Regions from separate parts of the Homo sapiens genome. Here region 2 is linked to region 1. The links are contacts of gene promoters, found by promoter capture Hi-C in blood cells and fetal thymus (Javierre and others, 2016). All regions are on one chromosome and are shown on one strand. Each heading gives the region's core, a stretch centred on a gene start or on the middle of the fragment in contact. The rest is flanking DNA. Distances are from core to core; before and after follow the strand shown. Region 1 holds the start of CNMD (chondromodulin). Region 2 has its middle 4.9 kb from the start of LINC01065.

Region 1 (7,102 bases), core at 2,408-4,907:
TTTTTGTATTTTTAGTAGAGACAGGGTTTCACTGTGTTAGCCAGGATGGTCTCCATCTCCTGACCTCGTGAGCCGCCCGCCTCGGCCTCCCGAAGTGCTGGGATTACAGGCGTGAGCCACCGCGCCCGGCCTTTATTTGCATTTTTAGTAGAGATGGGATTTCACCATGCTGGCCAGGCTGGTCTTGAACTCCTGACCTCAAGTGATCCTCCTGCCTTGGCCTCCCAAAGTGCTGGGATTACAGACGTGAGCCACCACGCCTGGCCTGCAGCCCACCTTTTATGTGCACTGCACCATCTGCATGGGGACAGCAGTGAAGCTGTCCCCCTCCTGAAGCTACTAGGGGAGGATGTGGGGGGAGGAGGCAGTCCAGTTTCTAACATACTAGACTCTGAGCTGGGGACGAGGCTGGGCTGTTGGAGCAGCAATTACCTTATCTGCTCTAAGTCCGTGGAGCTGTGGACACCCAAGGCTATTTTTATCCAAACAAGATGAAATTTATTATTTGCCAAAATTCTGCTCAATATGGTGCCTTTTACAGCCAAGGATATTTGCTAATGAGTTTTTAATAAGGCCTATGTTCTATAAGATTAATTACATAATGTTTGGGAAAATGTCTAGAAAAATTAGTCTGAGAGGAAAGGCCCCAAGCAATGATCTCCTTCCCTCATCTCACAGGGTGGGGTTGTCAGTTATCTCATATTGGTGGAAATTTCCCATATTTCAATGCCTTGTTCCATTTACAATAATGTGGATGAAAAATGGCCTCAATATTGGAGCCCAGTTCAGTTGTCCCCTGATTATTATTACTCCAGTGCTTCATAGTCCTCCAGCTAAATTTCAGTAAACCTGTCCTAAGGGGATTTACCCACATGAAAAGGATAGGAGGTGAATTACAGCTGGTTCTCCTCTATAAACCAATATAGAGGAGCCGAGGCACAGATAATCCCCAAAGAGTGGATAATCCATTTGGTTTGACAAGTCTTTCTGTTTGACAAAGACTTACCTTTTTTGATTACGTTTTGTCTGAGCTATTTAGATTTGTATTCAGGCAAAGCAGACCTGTGCATGTGCTATGCCTAGGTGGTGCAAAAATTACTCTATTTAGTATTTTGTGATTTGTTTTTCATACTTAAGTCATATGGATCAGGGAGAAAAAAACTATCATGATTTTCTTCATTCTCCTGTCTGTATAGGATATAGCAATAATTTTGATTGTTGACAATAAAATGTGATTCACTATTCCTCTGAATTCTTAGCATTTAATACTGCTCTCCTGAACCAGACAACCAACCATCTTGCAGTAAAGTAAAATATATGAAAAAAGGGAGCTGTGCTTATTCAGTATGATTGTTTAATCTCTCTTTTTAGAAGCCTGTCAGTTAGTGATGTTTACCTTGAATAATTAAATGACAAATGGTATTCATTTTAAAATATATCATGTCCAGAATCTTTACCAAAAAAAAGCATAGCTATTGTTATCCCCCATTGACCTATACCATTGAGGCTTTGTTATTTAAAAGATAGCATTTACATTCTAAAACCACAGAATTTCCCAAAGAGATGACAATCTAAACCCTGCTATTAATGGAGATGTAGATATTGAAATCATTCTCTTATTCACATTTGCTGTTTCAAACATGAGCATCTGGCCCAGCTTCTATATTTAAAATACAAATACATTAAGGCACTTTTCAAATACCCACAAAATACAGTGCAATTCTGATCTTACAAATCGATGCTTGTAAATTTGATATAGTCTCTAAAACAGACTCGGTGCTAAATGGCATGCTTATCTACATTAGACATTTGAGTTAAAAATACAAATTATGCAGTGACTGCAGAAGACGTGATGTGTAAAATGGTTGAATTGCTTTCAGCACCATTTTCTGTAAGTACTGGAATTCGTTCATGCTTTGCATTTCATGGTAGGAGAGAGGAAAAAACAGCAATCACCAATCCTCTGAGGATAGTGATTATGAAAGAGCCCTTTGTGTGTGCCCTGGAGATGGAATTCTTTTCCATTAGTTGAAATAAGCTTATACCAGACCTGGCAGTGGTCATCAAGATAAAATGCCCCCTTTTACATAGGTGAACACTTTCAGAGTATTTAGAGAACACACTGGAGCTCTGCCCAGTCAACTTAGAAACAGTCTTTATACTCCTCGAGAGCCGTGGAGCTTTAAAATAAATAGTTGCATACAAAGAAAGTAGGACAGCAGTTAGTAAAACACCTACTATTAAACCACATGTGATGACTAGGCCAGAATTAATTGTTAAAGAGATTTTCCACCTTTAAGGAAGTTAGACGTTTTGTTTGTTTGTTTGTTTTTTGTTTTTGTTTTCCAGAGAGAGAAGGGAATGTTCATGGCTAGGTCACAAAAAAACCTTCTGAAAGGCAAAAATTCCTTCCCAATGGGTCTGAATATGGGTCTGAATATTCCTCCACTATCTTTGTCCTGGATTTTAAACCCACAGCCTTTCTTAGCAGGGACAGGCCTTAGAGATCGTCCAGTTCCATTTTTTCCCTTCAGGACGAGTACACTGAGGCCAAAAGGTGACGTGCCTTCCCCACGGTCGCGCCACTGCTTAGTGGGAGATGAGCCGAGAACGGCCTTTCTCGGACCGTCCACTACATTCTCCCCTACTCTACGCTTCAATCTTCTCCCGTGAAACCTTCACTTGCTTTTCTACAACGTTGACCTAAGGCGGAAAGCCGCGTGCCAGAGTGGGATGGGAGAGGGGAGCTCACGCTGGGCCCGAGGGGCCCGCCGGCAGCCGCGCGCCCCTCGCCGGCCCGCGCTCGGGCTCCCCCTAGGGGCACCATGGGCGACACGGGGGTCCCCGCGCGCCGCCCTCTGGACTTACGTGACTGTCGCTCCCCTTCCAGAAGTAGAAGGCCCCGATGGCCCCAAAGAGCAGCAGCACAGCTCCCGAAATGAGGACCACGGCTCCCACCTTGAGCAGCCGCGCGGGGCTGGAGGGCTTCACCGTCAGCGTAGCGTACGCCTGCGGGCCGGGGCGGGAGAGGGACCGTCGCGTTTGTGCCGCCAGCACCTGCGGCCCCCAGCGCACCCGGGCCCCACGCGGTAGCCCCCAGGGAGTGGGGAGTCGGGCGGGAAACAGCTCGCCCGGGCTCCTACGGGTGCCCCTTTCGCCGCGCTCCCTCCCGAGGGTCCTTTGCAGTCGGGCGTGGAAGTGGGATGAGCAAACCCCGCAGCACAGGGCCTTCGCCCCAGGACCTGCACCCTCTACCGGCCACGGGACGTCCCTCCGCACCCGCCTGTGGATGCCGTGACCCCTGCACACTCATACGCGTGGGGCGACATCCCACCCACACATTTGGGACCCAAATTTATCCCCCCGCCAACACACCCATTCGGTGGCACGCACCCCTGAGTCCGAACTGTGGAACCTGATACTCACACAACCCAGGCCCTGCGTGTGGAATCCCTGGCGGTACTCACCGGGGGGCTGCAGAATTCCACGTCATCAGGTCCCACCAGGGCAATGGGAACTTTGTCGGAGTTCTCTGTCATGTTTGCGGCGGGAGGAGTGAGGCACTTGGAGACTCCCTGGGCACCCTGGGATCTGTCCCGCTGCCCCGACGTGCAGGGCATTTCAACGCCGCGCGCACACACGGTGCACGGTCCCGCCTGGGCCAGCCCAGCGGTCCCCACCCCTTCCAGCGCCTCACCTCTCTCCTCCCTTCTCTCTCCCGCCGCGGGAAGCTCGTCCTGCACTCCCGGATGCCCCCTTTCCTCCTCACTCTATCCTGTCTACTGGCCCCCCAAACAGCATCCCGGTGACTCTGAATGTGTGGGGGTGGTTGCATCCCTCAGAGCGGGATGCTGAATCCTGGGACCCAAAGAAATACTCAAGTGCCAGAGCAATTAGCCATGCACCGGAGGATGTCTTAGAATGTCAGCGGGCTCTGCTGTGACAACTGGCTGGAGGCCATTTCCTGCAGGGTCTTTGTAGGTGTGTGTTGGGGTGGGGGTGGGGGGAAGATGGCTCATGGAAGGTGAAGGAGAAGACAACAGAGTGGTGCAGGTGGACAGGGGACACTGGCCTAAGAGTGTAAGGGTTAGGCCACCTTCTCACTGGCCTGGCATTGCTGGATGGCCCCTGGGACTGGAAAACAGAGCAGGGTCTTAGGGATGGCTCCTTGCCACCAGTTTTTCTAGGGTCTGGGTACAACTGCAGCAAAAGTGAGAGCTAAGCAGAGCAGGGCTGGAGGGAAGGAGTTGGGGAGACCAGAATAAAAGTGCATGCTGGTTGGTTGAATAAATTAAATAAGTGCAAACAAAAGCAACAATGGCAAAGCACACACACACACACACACACACACACAGAGTACTGATGTATCCAAAGGAATAACACAAATGTGTGTGTGTGTGTGTGTGTGTGTGTGTATGTATGTATGTATATAAAATTTTCACTTTTGGAAATGCCATCTTCCAGTTCCAGGATACATGGTACTTCATTTGGATCCAGGCTTCCTTAAATTGCGTTCGATTCTAGCTTTGTGCAGAGCTCTCTGGTGAGGTGTAAGTGAGGAGCACTAGTGCATGAGAGGGATTGAGGCTTCCCCAAAGGGCAGCGGGAGATTGCATGTGCAGGACTGCAGAAGGAGAAAGTGTTGAAGAATCATCCAAGACATGTGATGAAGAATGAGGTGACAAGCATGATGACCTGGGGCTGGGAAGGAGGGGAGAAGTGGAGGAGACCACTTTCACAGAAGAATCGATAGGACTTGGCAATTCCTGGGCTGTGGGAACTGAGTTTTCAGACCTAGGAGGATTGGGAGAGTGATAGGAACCCTAGGGAAGTGAAAAAATTGGAAGAAACAGTTTTAGACATGTTGAGCTTGATGTGGGGATGAAAAGTAAAAGAGCCAAGGAAATGTCCTGAGCCTGCATTGGAATCAGCTATGGAAACAGCTGTCTGCACATCACACTAGACTTAAGGTGCTTGGAAAAAACTCCAGCAAGATCTCCAGCCAGGGCTCATCCCTGGGGCACTGCTGAGGCAGAGTTCAAAGACCTCTTTTCACAAGGGCATTCTTCACAGGAATTTTGGTGAAGGAATAAGAGAAGTAACTGTCAGAGAGGTGGGAGATGGTACAATATAAAGTAGTACATGTAATTTTAAAGGCACATTCAAGAAGGGTGGGTCAGCAGTGTCAAATGCTGAAAAAAAATGAGCACAGAGAAAGGCCTTGGAAGGGCACAACCAAGAGGCCATGGGAACCAGCGAGAGAGTAGTTCCATTTGCTTCCCTGGGCACAGAAGACACATTGCAAAGGGTTACAGAGTGATTAAAAATATTTGCAACTTATACCACAGACAAGGAACTAGTTTTCTTATATAGTGTTTTCCTAGGAAAACCAAAAGACCAAAAATGTAGTAGAAAAAATGGCAAAGAATGGAAACAGAGAGTTGGTGAAGCAAGAAGTAGAAATTTCTCTTAAATGTAAGAAGAATGAACAACAGCATTATTTTGCCTTTTTTTTTTTTTTTTTTTTTTTTTTTTTGAGACAGAGTCTTGCTCTATCGCCCAGGCTGGAGTGCAGTGGTGCGATTTTGGCTCACTGCAACCTCCACCTCCCAGGTTCAAGTGGTTCTCCTGCCTCAGCCTCCCAAGTGGCTGGTATTACAGGCGCCAGCCACCATGCCTGACTAATTTTTCTATTTTTAATAGAGGCAGGGTTTCACCACGTTCGCCAGGCTGGTCTCGAACTCCTGACATCAAGTGATCCGCCCACCTTGACCTTCCAAAATGCTGGGATTACAGGCATGAGCCACCACGCCTGGCCACAACTGCATTCATACAAGGAAATGCAAATTAAAAGTAGACTGGTTCACCTATGAGACTGGAAAAACATAAAAACGCTTGTTAAAACAATCTGTTGAAAAATATGAGGGGCAGTGAATTTATGGACTACTGTAGTGGGTGAATTGGTACAACTTCTATGGAGAACAATTTAATTCCAAAATGCAAAATGCAGTTTCATTTCTATGGATTTATCCTACAGATGCACTCACAAGGGTGGAAAAATCCTGCAGGTGCAACGATGCTCACTGCAGCATGTTTGTTAGAACAAAGCACTAGTAATATACTCAATGTCCAGAGTAGACAATTTATGATCCATTCTCACCGTGGGGGTTTGGCAGCCCTTTAAAAGAATGAGGCAGCTTTGGATGTAGTGATGTAGATAGAACACTCTCTAAGATACTTCAAGTGAAAAAAGCAAAAGGTAGAAAATGCGTAGAAATGCTTCCATTTGTATAAAGAAATACAAACAAGAATAAATGTAAGTATATGCTTTCTGGAAAGATAAGATGCTGGTAGTGGGGGTTGCCTCTGAGGAAAATGTGAAGCTTGGGGAGACCAGTAGAAAGAAGATGCTTAACTGTGAACCTTCTGAAATGTTTTGAATTCTATATTGTGAACACGCATTAGCTATTCAGGAATTGAGTGAATAAAGCACTAAATAACAGTGAGTAGGTGGGGAGGAAGTGAATGCTACAAATGGAGACAATTCTTTTAACAACTTTCAACTTGAGGGGAAGAAGGATGAATGTAAGGAAGTTTTAGATGAGGGGAGTTAGAGGATCAAGGAAGGTACCACCTTCCCTTGATGAACCTTGAGAAGGAGAGAAGGACTGGAGGGAGTGAGTGGTGAGTGGATACTTTGGGGCCAAACAGACATTGAAGAGAGGGTGAGGAATCAGGGGAAATGCAAGACCTTGCCTCATTCATACATTTTTAACACATAATATACAGAAAGTAGCTGACCAGGGCGTGAGGGGTGAGGAGTGGGTATGGAGATCAGTTGCCTCCTCTGAGCACATTCTCCTAAAGTGGCATATTTTCAACAATTTTAAGGTAGTGTGTTCACATGATGATGGTTATAGATAATGAAAAGGCAGTAGAAAAAGCAGTAAGGGAGCAAGACTGGGAGGCTCATTGCTGTGGTTTGAATGTGTTTCTCAAAATTCATGTGCTGGAAACTGAATTCCCAATGCAAGTGTTGAGAGGTGGACCTTTAAGAGATGATTAGGTCATGAGGGTTCTGCCTTTGTGAAAGGATCAATGC
Region 2 (7,102 bases), core at 3,168-5,667, 420 kb after region 1:
GCTTTCTGTATATAAGTCCTGCTTCCTCTTTCATACTTATTCCTAGAGGGCAGGACAGATACCACATGCTATTTATTCTTCACAATTTAATAAGAACTTATCAATAAAGAATTCATTTTTATTGTTCAACACAGGCTTACTAAGCATCATTCTGAGCCAACACATGCCTAGGTGATCCTTGGAACAAGCATGAAAAACACACAGTTCCTGTCCTTGAGGAACTCATGATTTAAATGAAGAAAAATGTAAATGAGACCATTTTGATAAAATATAGTTGGATGCTTAAAGTGATAATCCATTCTTTGGTCAGACTCTTGAATTTTGAATGGATCTTTGAAATAAGGATCCAGGAAGTACCATCCATTCTTTCCACCAAAGTTTGTGAGTTTACTGGGTATCAGACACAGTGTGGGATAATCAGAACTCCAGTAGTATTTATATGTAAAAATCAAATGAATGTTCCCATATTATATGGAATTGTACTGGAGAGGACATCAGAACAGTCTAAAGCTTTATAAACTTGACAAGAACGCTGGGAAGAATAACGAGTTAATCTTCCACAAAATGCTTTGAACACAGAAAGTACCAACATAAGTGCTAATTATTATTATTAGCCCCAAGACCTTTTTCCCTGTACTGTTAGATCCATCATAAAATTGCTTAACTTCAAGGGAAAGTATTGTTCTTTACATGAGCACTTTTTGTGAAGTCAAATGTTAATATATGCATTTATGGAAAAAACACATCTTTCATTATTCTTTTTATCCTCCCTAGAGGGAAGACATTGTGTCATTTATCTACTCTGTAAGGTCCCTAGCAAAGCAATGTGCATTTTGTTGCTCTATGTTGGCAATGGCTGGCTTGCCTTAAGAAGAAGCAAAATGTATATTTAGAATCTTATCTGGGGCCAGGCATGGTGGCATGCATCTGTAGTCCCAGGTACTGGGGAGGCTGTGGTGGGAGGATCACCTGAGCCCCTGGGAAATCGAGGCTGCGGTGAGCTGTGATCTCATCACTGCACTCCAACCTTGGTGATGAAGCGAGACCCTGTCTCAAAACAAACAAAAAAAATCCAACAACAACAGAAAAAACCCCAAAGAATCTTAGCTAGGACTACAAACTAGTGAGATTTAAAAATAACAGAACTTAGATAAACTAAAAATATTTGCATTTTAAAGTGGTTACCGGGGAGACTATAGAGTCTACATTATCAGAGATCTGTCATCACTCCAAATATTTTGGTTCTTGTCATCTGGAATTGCTTTCAAAACCACTTGTGAAAACCATATTAAAAGCTAGTGCCATTACTTCATTTCACATCTGATACACAGAAAAGAACATGAGAGACCAAAAGTGAAAAATATATCCAAAGGGAATGCTCTGTGTTGGTGTGTGCAAGGCTCAGAAAGTCAATGAGTTAGAAACTCATTGCACTAATATGAAGCAAATCATTCTATACACACCCACATAAACTCAAGAAAATTTCAAACACAAACATTGAAAGTTTTTAAAGCATTTTAAAATTTCAAATTTCGGTTATACTGGATCTCGTGGGAAAAAAAAATCAAAATCATGTTTAAAAGACATTCACCAAAGAAGGAAAGAAGGCAAACAGGGAGAATAACCTCCACGACCCCCCGCCCCCAACACACACACACAATTCCTCTCTGCCCTCTTTCCAGGAGTCTAATCAAATGTTCTGAAAAACCAACTAATGACCACCCCCTCTCCCAGGTTGTTTCTTTCTTTCTTTCTTCCACCTCAGGTGACAATAGTCAGAAATTTTTGGTTACTTTCCACCATTTTCTAATGAACCTGTTTGTTGTCTGGAAGAGGAAAGAGAACTAGATAATGGGCAGCTGGAAGATAGAGCTGGCTAGTCACAGGCTCTTATTCCTTTCCCTGTCTTATACATCTTTTTAAGGCTTGTATTGGTTTGCTAATGTTTCTGTAACAAAGTACCACAAACGAGGTGGCTTCAACAACAGAAATTTATTGTCTCACAGTTCTGGAGGCCAGCAGTCCAAGATCAAGGTGTTGGCAGGGTTGTTTTTTTCTTAAGACGTGAGGAAGAATCTGTTCCATGACTCTCCCCTAACTTCTGGTGGTTTGCTGGTAATCTTTGCTGTTTCTTGGCTTGTAGACACATCACCTTGATCTCTGCGTTGATGTTCACTTGCTGTTTTTTCTGTGTGTATGTCTGCCTCTGGATTTCCCCTTTTATCAGGACACCAGTCATGTCAGATTAAGGCAAACTCTAATAATCTCATTTCAACTTAATTACCTTTGTAAGACTCTTTCTCTAAATAAGGTCACATTCTGAAGTACTTGGGTTTAGGACTTCAACATGTAAATTTGTGGGGAACACAATTTGACCCATAACAGCCTAGAGTGAGGGTGCACGGAGAAATGAAAATGTGGGGAAAAAGAAAGCCTAACAGCTAGACTTTTCGCACTATGGCATATATAAACAGGACGTCGTTCTTCTCACTTTCATAAATTGTCATACCTATAAGGGTCTGAGCTAAGGCACCTTTTCATATCCATCTCAGATAAATTCCTATAGCACTTTACTTGTACCTATCTATGACACTCATAATTTTCTACCTTGTACTGCAGTTTATTATGTGCATAATTTATTTCTCTTATCAAACTATAAACTTCTTTAAAGCAGTATCTAATCCATCTTTGTTTCTATTTCTTGACCTAGTACAGTACCTTGAACATGATCGGTATTCAATAAATTATCATTGAATCCATAAATGGCTGTCCAGACTTTATAGGCCAGAGTTCAAAAAGTATATAAACTCACTGTTAAGCACTATATTGGTCAGGATAAGTTAGGTTGTACTGCAGGATCAAATTACTCCAAATTCTCAGTGATTTAATACAAAAAAGTTTATTTTTTGCTGAGGCAAAAATCTTGTAGAAGTCCAGGCAGTTCCTTAAACTGTTAGTCCTCCATGTGGAAGCAAAGTACCCTGGACAATTTCATCTTAGCATTAAGCAAGCCAGAAATGTGAAATGTCAATCTCAGGGACCTTTTCTTTTTCCCTAAAAAAAAAGTATCCTATATTACTGTTGTGTACAGTATTTACTGAGCCCTTAACTATGTACCAGGCAGTATTGTAGATGCTGGGATCCAACAGTGAAAAAGACACACTAGAGGATACATTCCTGTGTTGAACAAGGATTGAAAAAAGGAGTGGCCAAATAAATGAGATATTTGCATACAATTATAAATGCCATAAAGAAAGTAGAACAGGATAATATGGCACAAAATAACTTTCTTGTGATTTCAGTGCCAGTATGTTCTAAAAATCTTAGTCTTCTATTAGAAAATTAGTCATGGGAAAATAAATTCACACAAAATATTTAAGAAAAGAAAAAAATCTTAAAAATGGAAACACACACTCTATTTCAGTTATCTATTGCTGTAGAATAAACCACCCCAAAACTTAGTGGTTTAAAACAACAGTAATTGTATATTTGCTCAGAATTCTGTGATTTGGGTAAAGCTTGGTGGGAAAACCTCATCTGTGCTCCATATCTGTTGGGCTGGAATGTCCAGAATGTCTTTTTTATTCACATGACTATTGACTGAGTTGAATGTCTAAATTATGGAGACTATCTGAGCATCTCTATCTCCATGTGTCTACTCCAAATGGCTAGCTTGGGGTTCCTCACAGTATTGCAGCTGGGTTTCAAGACGGAGCATTCCAGGAAAATACGCTCAGGGCCCTATCAATCCTTTGCTTGCATCACACTTACTAATGTCCCATAGACTAAGGGTAGTCACATGGCCAACCCTAGAGTCAACCTGGCAGAGAACTACACAAGGGCATGATAAGAGAAATGGTTCATTGAGAGCTACCAAAATATCTGTTTATCACTGTCAACAATCTGGCCTCTAATAATTCTCATTCCTCCTGCAATACCCTCTGCTTTTGCTGAGACCCCCATAATCTCATTCTGTTACAGCATGAGATTTGGACTTGAAGTCTACAATCTCATCATCTAAATCAGGCCCAGGTGAAAGATGAGGCTTCTTAGGTATAATCACTTTTGATTTGAATACCAGTGAACTGAAGAGATGAAGAGATAAGTTATATTCTCCCTCATGCCCATAACCATCAACATATAATGGTGAAGCAAGGACTGAAAAATGGCAATAAAAGGTCCATTCAAAAAGGGGGAAATGTGAAAAATATAGCAGTCACCAATCTTAAGCAACCTGCAATCTAGCTGGGTACATATTTTCAGATCTTAGGGCCTAGTTCTGATATCTGGAAGTGATTCTCCATGGCTCATGCTTACAACTGAGTGGCTTTCAGTCTTCATCTTGCTCATAGAAGGTTGAGAGCACAAAGGCTTCTTTTTATTTTGAAATGCTTCTGTCTCTTTTAGTTCAATCTGGCAATGTTTGTGCTAGTACAATTCTCTTTAAAACTTTGTGGGTTTCTTAGGTATCTTATTAGGGGTTAACTTCATTAGACAAAAGTTATACCCACAAAGCTCTTTAAAACTGATCCCTTCCTAATTTTGCCTGCAAGTCAGGGTGCTATGGGATAATACCTTTACTATTTTTAGAAGATCTTTATTTCTTCTCTTTTCTTTCTTTTTTTTTGGTGAGAGAGTTTGAGGCAATTTGTGAGGATTCCTAGAAGCCCCTTTTTCTATCCAAGGGAATTTATGGGTCAGAGCCCTAAATCTTTTCTGAGATCTCACAAGCAGTATCCTTGATTTCATCTTTACTTTGAGTCCCTATTTTATTGGTATTGTTCTGGATTTGATATGAGGCAGATTTTACTTTGAGAATATTTTTCCAAGGAACACTGGGGATGAGAATTTATTTTTGAACCCCAAAGCCTTTGCATTTTCTTCAAATTCTGCTTGAAAACAGAATAGCTAATTCTTTAGTTCATCTTACACTTCCCATAACTTAACTTAGGCAACTAAAAGATGCAAGGTGCTACTTTAAACATCCCGTGTGGATATCTTCATAGCTGGATCCACAAGTTAATTAGGTATCTTTTCTATTTTGCACATTACTGTTGGTGATAGTTTTGCTAATGAATCTACACATCCATAACTTGGGTTTTCTTTTCTCCAGCTTCCAGAAAGCAATTTCCTCTCCGCTCTTTTAACTAACATTAAGTGTCTTCTTGAGATTTATCAGGTCTCCACCTATTGCACAATTCCAAATCCCACATGTCTTAGCTTTTTGTTGTAGGAGTACTCCACTTTGGGTATCAATTTCTAACTTCCAGTTTACTTCAGGGACTGTTTTACCAATTGTTCTGCCAGTACATGATTCAAGCTTTCTTTTCTCCAGTGTCTGATAGCTATTTTATCACTGCCCTTCCATTCTTCACTAATACAAAAACTCAAACAAAAATCTCTTTTAAATTATATCCTTAGGGGAATAAGTACACATTTAATTTGGTCCCCTATATCTTCTGGATCATCATTTTCAGCACTGTAAAGTCATAATTGCAGTTATTAAAATTTCTCAATTGCCTAAGATTCAGTTTTCTTAGAAAGATTGCAAACAATTGCCTGTCTTTCTTTCCCTTCCTTCCTCCCTGCCCTTCCTTCTTCTTCTTTCCTTTCTCCTTCCCTTCTTCCTTCCTCCTTCCTTCCTCCCTCCCTCCCTCCCTTCCTTCCTTTTCCTCCCTCCCTCCCTCTGTCCCTCCCTCTCTCTCTTCTCTCTTTCTCCCCTCCCTCCCTCCCACCTTCCTTCCTTCCTTCCTTCCTTCCTTCCTTCCTTCCTTCCTTCCTTCCTTTTATCCAGGTACATAGTATTTAGCTTTAGGGTGCAGAAGTAAATACATTTTTTTCTTGCATGATACTTACTGTCTAGTGAGAAACTTACTTGTCATTTATCCTAAAAAATATATTAACCAGAAGACCTATTTTGGTTATTGGATAACCCAAGGGAAAATTTCAAAGTAAACAAAACTTGTCTTTGGCTTACCTCACTTCACTTGTTGGCAAAAATTTCTCCACTTTTGGAAATCTAGTCACTGAGGTCTACTGTTTTTATGTTTTTCTTAGGAAGCCTTTGTCCTTTGCTTGATTTCTTCCAGAACGGGCCTCAGAATCTATCCATAGTTTTCCTGCTTTTCTTTACACAAATACATATATATCTCTACCTTCTTCTTTGATTTCCCCAGGGCCTTGGTCTTGACTAAATTTTCCCAAGCTTTTTTTTTTTCTTTTTTTCCCAGTAATGTGATATTGGGGCATCATTGCTTTCTCTGATAAAATGGTAACATTTAGACAGATACTTTTCTTTCTAGAGATGAAACATGTGAACCTAAAGAATGTCTAAAACTATGACTAGGCATGTGAGGAAGATATGTAGGGGTAAACTGGCCTTTCAGGCCTCCTTAAGTTGCCATGGCAACTCCATGTGGCTTCTGTCTCTCCTCCTGGGATTCTCCATGTGACCAGGCCCTTGTGCTGGAGTAGGCATGCTTTCAAGAGTGGATAGAACCAGTGGCTGTGCAATTAAATTTCTCCAATTTATTTTCAGGCCAAAGAGGTTTGCAATGTAGGTCTGGCTTTACACCCTTACTTAAGAAAACATCTTATGGCTCCTCAAGGATCCGAAGGAACCTAATTAGCCACATAGTAAAATCTGTACTTTGTGGCCACCAGAACTTTGACAGCAAGTGTAAGTAACTTTGTGACCAGCATTTGCTTTTCATATTTACTTGAAATAAATCTATGTTATCTCTTCTGTGTATTTAAGATCTGAAGAAAAAGATTTCTGACCCCACCTCTTGTTCACAAGACAGGGGGTATGACCCTCTGGCAGGGTTTTCAGCTCTTTACCCGCATTGGGTATTTTATTTTTTATTTTTTATTTTTTTTTTGAGACAGAGTCTCGCTCTGCCACCCAGGTGGGGGTGCAGAGGCAGGATCTCAGCTCACTGCAACTTCCGCCTCCTGGGTTCAAGCGATTCTCCTGTGTCAGCCTCCCCAGCAGCTGGGAGTACAGGTGTGCACCACCATGCCCAGCTAATTTTTTGTATTTTTAGTAGAGACTAGGTTTCACCATGTTGACCAGGATGGTCTTGATCTCTTGACCTCGTGA

What was found. The method cuts DNA at HindIII sites, captures the fragments that hold promoters and counts their contacts. A CHiCAGO score of 5 or more calls a contact.
Region 2: a contact is called between a fragment that was not itself captured here and the fragment with the promoter of CNMD in region 1, in 1 of 17 cell types (megakaryocytes). The highest score is 6.2, in megakaryocytes.

Annotation. Positions count from the first base shown.
Region 1 is chr13:52,736,163-52,743,264 of GRCh38, forward strand. CNMD (chondromodulin) reads right to left here and starts at 3,658. Exons shown (of 7, transcript NM_007015.3): 1 at 3,468-3,658; 2 at 2,869-3,009. The coding sequence starts at 3,539. RefSeq lists an enhancer at 1,228-1,729. The HindIII fragment of the contact is 4,345 bases long and covers 2,037-6,381 here.
Region 2 is chr13:53,153,204-53,160,305 of GRCh38, forward strand. No RefSeq gene overlaps it. Among named protein-coding and RNA genes, the nearest start is that of LINC01065, 4.9 kb to the left of the region's middle. The HindIII fragment of the contact is 1,802 bases long and covers 3,517-5,318 here.